2 separate regions of the Homo sapiens genome follow, and region 2 is linked to region 1. The links are contacts of gene promoters, found by promoter capture Hi-C in human tissues and cell types (Jung and others, 2019). All regions are on one chromosome and are shown on one strand. Each heading gives the region's core, a stretch centred on a gene start or on the middle of the fragment in contact. The rest is flanking DNA. Distances are from core to core; before and after follow the strand shown. Region 1 holds the start of RAB39A (RAB39A, member RAS oncogene family). Region 2 overlaps ELMOD1 (ELMO domain containing 1).

Region 1 (3,061 bases), core at 203-2,702:
CTTAAATGAGTTCCAATGGATAATGCAGTCTTTAAGAAACAGAACAGTACAATACATCAGTTTCACCATCTTCCTCTAAAACGAAGTGCCTTTGAATCCTAGACATTTAAAATTTGCTTTAAACCTGCTTCCATCTCAAATATTCAGGAAATGCATATAATTTCATTTACTTTTTATTTACACAAGTCGCCTTTGTGAAACCCTTCATGTCCCCAGCGGATATTTAGGAGGAGACTATTCATTTGGATCCCTCCTTCTGTCTTTAGAAATATTATCACCCTGGAACGTTAAGTACTGATCATAAGCAAAATTAAAGTTCCTGGCGAATCTCAATATATGTCTTTTTCCCACCAAACATGACAAACTTCTAAAGACAACTCAACCCTTCACATACACACACACACACACACACACCCTCAGCTGTGCCAGTGTCCCTGATGTTGCATCTAGTTAACCTACAAGACCCATTCCCACGGGTCATGACCCAGTATTTCTGATGACCACATTCAGTGCTGTGAGGTGCCCAAACCATTACCGCATCCACCTCTCTGTGAACCATGCCCAGTGAGCTCATGCAGGAACCTGGGTTGGAGCGCTCCTTGCTGTGAAGCTAAAGGATCCATCACGAATCTGGGAACCCTCCCTCGCGGTTCTCCCCGGCCACACAGCGTGGGAGCCGCTGGGTTAGGGTAGGAAAAGGGGCGCCTGCTTGGAGGAGGGTGGTCGGGTCATGCTGTGCGCAGCCAGGGAAGCCGAGTTTGGGAAGAAGGCAGCCGGGGAGCCGGAGGGGATAAAAATACCCACAGGGGCTGAAAGAGTTGGGGAAGAGGGGGCGGCGAGGACGACCCCGGTTCAGGCGGGAAAGGAAAGATGGAAAGGGGGCGCAGGAAATGGGCGCCAAAGAAAGAAGTGAGAAATTGCGGAGGAGGAAGTCGTCCCTGGAAGAGGAGGGGCAAAGGGGAAGCGAGAATGGAGTGTTTGCACTTTCGAGAGGGAAGGGCCAGAGCCTCTCCCGACCAGGGCCGGCGGGGCGGACGCCTGGGGAAGGGGCGTCCGGGCGGGCTGAGGGGGCGGCGCGGTGCCCAAGGTCCCCGGGGTCCCTACCTGAACCGCTCCTGTCCCGCCGTGTCCCAGAGCTGTAGCTTGATCCTCTTGCCCGGCTCGATCTCCAGCAGGCGGGAGAAGAAGTCCACGCCGACGGTGGGGTCGCAGGCGGGGGAGCGCAGCCCGGGGAAGCGGCCCTGGGTGAAGCGGTGCAGGAGGCAGGACTTGCCCACGGTGGAGTCCCCGATCACGATGAGGCGGAACTGGTAGATCCAGATGGTCTCCATCGCTCACGTGCCCCGCTGGCTCCCGGGCCGCCCCACCCGCGGGCTAAGTTCGGCGGCGGGAACTGTCCTTTCAGCACCTCGCGGGCGCCCGCCCGCCGCCTTCCAGCATATTCCTGCGGCTGCGGCCGCCGCCTGGTGCCCGCCCTCTCGGGAGAGAGAGGCGGGGCCAGGCCCGGCTAGGGGCGGGGCCTCTGGACGGGGGCGGGGCGGGGGCGGTGGCGCGTGGGAGGGGGAAGCAGGTTTGCTGCCGCGAACTCCCGCCCCTGACCGGCTGCAAATCACTCTCCCTCAACGCTCACTGGGCGCCGGCAGGAAAGTGGGCGTGGCGGGAAGACGTGACAGCAGCAACAACCAAGGAAAATGAAGCAAGGTCTCAACTCCGGGAGGGTCAGCCAATGAAAAGTGAGAGTCGTTTTCTTACAGGCGTCAGGGCGGGTTGGTCAGATTAGGGCTCTGATTTTGGAAGTCCCTGAGGCCATAACTTGGGTCATTGCTTTGATTCCTCTTTTTTTTTTGTCCCCCAGGCTGGATTGATGTGGTGAGATCTCGGCTCATTGCAGCCTCAAGCGATCTGCCCACCTCAGCCTCCCAAGCAGCGGGGACCACGGGTGTGAGCCATCACACCTGGCTAATTTTCTTCTGGGTTAAAAAAAAATTTTTTTTTTAGAGATGTGGTCTCGCTATGTTGCTTAGGCTGGTCTCAAACTCCTAGGTTCAAGCGATCCATCCACCTCAGCCTCCTGAGTAGCTGGGACTACAGGCGGGGGCCACCACATCCCGCTAATTTTCTAACTTTTTGTAGAGATGGGGTCTTGCTGTGTTGCCCAGGCTGGTCTCGAACTCCTGACCTCAAGTGATCCTCCAGGCTCAGCCTCCCAGTGCTGGGATTACAGGTGTGAGCCACCACACCCTGCTTTCTTGTCTTGATGAGAGCCACCTCCAAGGCATTTTAAGGTGAAGGAGTTTTGGGCAGGATTGAAATAAATTTGCACAGCCAGTTCTGGGTGCTTCTAGCAAGGGCTCTGGCTGTTGCTGCGTGCTGCCACTGTCTGTTCTTCACTGCTATGAGTACCACAGAAGAGTGAGAAACGCCAAGTATCATCCCCATACCCTCTGGGGCCCTCCAACCCTGGGGACAGTGGCAAAAAAAAAAAAAAAAAAAAAAGCCGGGGAAATGTTGAGAAGCTCATGAAATTTTCAGCTCTCCTTGGTCTCCATTGTTTAAGTCAGAAAAAAGCGAACAGGTGGTCTCTTAGCTCATGTCTGATTAATGATGTAAGTAAACAAAGCAGAACTTAAATTCTGGTGAGATCTTACTACTTTCTTGTGCCTTTCCTCAAATTGAGTAATAGTGACGTCAAGGTTTATCTTTAAAAAGTGAAACAGTTTAAAAGTGTGTGTTAGGCCGGGCGCGGTGGCTCACGCCTGTAATCCCAGCACTTTGGGAGGCTGAGGCGGGTGGATCACCTGAGTCAGGAGTTCGAGACCAGCCTCAACATGGAGAAACCCCGTCTCTACTAAAAATACAAAATTAGCCGGGCGTAGTGGTGCATGCCTGTAATCTCAGCCACTCGGGAGGCTGAGGCAGGAGAATTGCTTGAACCCGGGAGGCAGAGGTTGTGATGAGCTGAGATCGTGCCATTGCACTCCAGCCTGGGCAACAAGAGCGAAACTCCATCTCAAAGAAAATAAATAAATAAATAAAAGTGTGTGTTTAGGCCGGTCGCAGT
Region 2 (3,408 bases), core at 363-2,862, 300 kb after region 1:
ACTCCTCAAAACCTCCATGTGAGCAACTCAGGCTGGCTGTTCACCATCAAATACTGCCAGAAGCTCACTTCTTAAATAATTTGGACCTATTTAAGTCCCTAAATCACAAAGTTTATGGAAAAAACTGCTGAGGATCAAAAGCAGAACAATAAAAATGATTAACTATTTTGAGAGAATGTTATATTGGTTTGACATGTTTACCCTTTAAAGGAAGCAATAAAGAAATAGATCTGTAAATGCTCTTGAGCTAATCAGTGGTTGTTTAGGAAAGAAAGAAAGAAAGAAAAAGAAAGAAAGAGAGAGGGAAAGAAAAGAAGGAAAGAAAGAAAGAAGGAAAGAAGATAAGAAGGAAAGAAGGAAGGAAGGGAAGGGGAAGGGGAAGTGGGGGACAGGAGGGAAGGGAGGGACAGGAGGGAGGAACAGAGGGAGAGAGGAAGGAAGAGAATAAGGAAGGGAGAAAGAAAAGGTGTATCTGTTTCTTATTTGAGTTTAAGGATTTTGGGATTCATTGTACCCTTTCCTCCTTTTAATTTCATTTGTTTTATGTCCTTTTTTTTTTTTTTTTTCATGACTGCATGCTTTGGGAGGAGGCATTTCAAATGTACCTGTGAGACAGAACCCACTTACTGTCTCTTGTACCAGCACTAATCTCAACCTCCTGTTTCACACCCTCCTCACCTTCTGAACCCTCTGCTCAGGGGGTTTATGGCTCTGCTCCTTTCCCTCCTAGGCTGAATCAGGAAACCAATAAGCTTAGTTTTAATTGGGCAATATTCGCTTTTCTTCTTCATAACACTAGACTTAGTTTTCTTCATTTTGATGGAAGATTCTTGACTCACTACTAAAAATAATCTGTTAGATTTTGTAGGAACAACAATTAAATCCTCAAGACTAGATGGAGAAAATACTGATCACCACCTCCTCTTTCTAATAACTACATGCATAGGCAGCAGTTTTTTTGTTTATTTCTGTTTTTTAATCACAGCTTTTTGATAGTGTTCCAGAAAGAGTTACTGTAGCTTCCTAAGATGAATGCCTTGCTTAAACACTGGGAGAATCTGATTCAATAATAAGAGCTACTACACATGCTCCATTTCCAATCTTTTCTGTTACTGCCTTTTATTAATATGCTGCAGAGTGATGTTTATGGCTGAGTTCACAGCAGTGTTCTTCCATAAAGCAATTATGATCACGTTTATTATTTAACATTCATTCTCTAGTTTGAACCAGAATAGCCACCCAATGTAAATTATTCGAAATGGATCATATCTCTGCTACCAAACAAAAGCAACCTCCGGTCTTGTGGCGCTTTGTTAGAGGAATCCATTCAGGAGGGATGGGGCTTTCAAAACAGGAAATGCGCCTAAAACCATGTAGCCCCTTGCCTGTGGGGTGAGGGGGTGTGGGTACCTGTAATGCAACACTATGCCATCATCCTAAATTTGTGACTCTGACGTCTTCTTTTGGAACAGTAAGAGAAAAGTGGCTTATTTTGAACAGTTTCAATGAATGTGCTAATGAAAGTTAATTCTTGCTTGAAGAAATCCTGTAATAAATAAAAAGTACACTATTGTTGATGAAAGATATGTACAAAAATAATCACAGTTCTTGGTTCAAACCACAGTTTCCCAAATGAAATACTTTTCATCTAAATGTCATAAAGAAGAGCAAGCGGCTCAATGTCCCCGACAGATCATTTAGTTGCTCCACTGAAGTTCCTAAGTAGGGGCACTGACAATCGGTTGGGAATTAACTTATCAATAGGTACTTTGCCTAGTAAATGGGACCATCCGTATAAGAGCTCTCTACTAGGAAGAGAGGCTGCAGAGGACTTGGTACATGAACTGGAAATGTGAAATCACACAAAGAAACCATCCGTGGGTCTCTAGGAAAACAAGAGTATTTCCTTCCTGTAGAGCAGGGGAGAGGTTCCAAGATCCCACGCCCAGATAGTGTGGGGCCCTGTGGTTTTTTCACATTATTCTTTTTCTGAAGAGATCACACTAACTTCCGAAAAAGTAAAAATTAAGGGGATTGGTGGTTATATATCTATCATAGATCAATGTTATTCAAAATTATACTGCTGTAGCAAAGGGCACTCTTTTTATAATATATTCCAGGGAAATTGTATCTGAAGGCTTAGAGAGCACTAGTTGATTGTGTAATAATTAAAATAAATTAATTAATAGTGTAACCCTTTCCTTTCAAAGAAAAGGAGGTACAGGTTTCTCTTAATTTACTAACAACAACATTATTCAACCAAAATTTTGATGATTAAATACACTTTATAAGATTTATTTCTATTTATTTATTTGTCAAGACACGGTCTTACTCTGTTGCCTAGGCTGAAGCAGCCTCGACCTCTCTGGGCTCAGGTGGTCCTCCTACCTCAGCCTCCCCTGTAGCTGGGACTACAGGTACGCGCCACAATGCTCAGCTAATTTTTGTATTTTCTATAAAGATGGGGTCTTGCTGTGTTGCCCAAGCTGGTCTTGAACTCATGGGCTTGAGCAATCTGCCTGCCTCAGCCTCCCAAAGTGCTAGGATTATAGGCATGAGCCGCCGTGCCTGGCTACAAGATTTATTTTTTAAAATCAGGTTATGTTTTACTCTTTGGATAATACTTTTATTGACTTATTTATAAGGAGAAACAATGAACACATTATAACACATTATACTTTGACATTTTAAAAGTATTTAAATGCAACCTCAAATATAAACTTTTATTGGTAAATAAAAATATTTTTAAGGCAACCCAAATTAAGTAAACATATAAATAAAGTCATCAAAGGTATTATTCATGCTCCATCATCAATTATAGGGTTCAAAATATTCTATAGGGGATAAGAAATAGGCCTGTTATTATTATAAATTTGCTACATAATATAATTCAAAAAAAATTTAAACAACCTAGTTAGAGGACATGCTCAGTATTGTGAACAAATTAATTTTTGTTAAAGACCTAGAGCAGCTGAAAGAAAGAGATTTGAAATAAGTTGGGGGGAAATGAAAAATGACAATTGAAAGGTATTTCAATTTATTTTATTTATTCCTTCATAGAGCCAAATACAAAATAAGACTGACCGTGCAGTACAGAAGAAATGAGAGTGGGAGATATGGCAGTGGAAAAAGTGAACATGAGTCAAGAACTTATTTTCACAGCAAGCCATATGACCTCCCTGTCCACAAGGAGCTTGTAGTCTAGCAAGGAAAAGGACAGTAAAAACAGAAAGTTGAAAAACAGTGTGACAATTCTATAAAAGCAAAACACCCAGGGTGTTGGAGAGGCAGAGGAGAGAGAGACAGTACGTTCCTCTCAGGTTGGACAGGAAAGCCAGCTCCACCATCCCACAGAGACAGACAGAACAGCCTGGAAAATCAGCGTGCTTTCCTCACTTCAGTACAAAA

Evidence for each region. Contacts are between HindIII fragments. The study calls those that stand out against the background at their distance.
Region 2: a fragment that was not itself captured here is called in contact with the fragment with the promoter of RAB39A in region 1 in 1 of the 25 tissues and cell types used here (spleen).

Annotation. Positions count from the first base shown.
Region 1 is chr11:107,926,839-107,929,899 of GRCh38, reverse strand. RAB39A (RAB39A, member RAS oncogene family) reads right to left here and starts at 1,452. Exons shown (of 2, transcript NM_017516.3): 1 at 1,105-1,452. The coding sequence starts at 1,331. RefSeq lists silencers at 977-1,196, 1,227-1,716. The HindIII fragment of the contact is 22,665 bases long and covers 1-3,061 here.
Region 2 is chr11:107,623,535-107,626,942 of GRCh38, reverse strand. All of the region lies in intron 2 of ELMOD1 (ELMO domain containing 1), which reads right to left. Among named protein-coding and RNA genes, the nearest start is that of ELMOD1, 34 kb to the right of the region's middle. The HindIII fragment of the contact is 3,491 bases long and covers 1-3,357 here.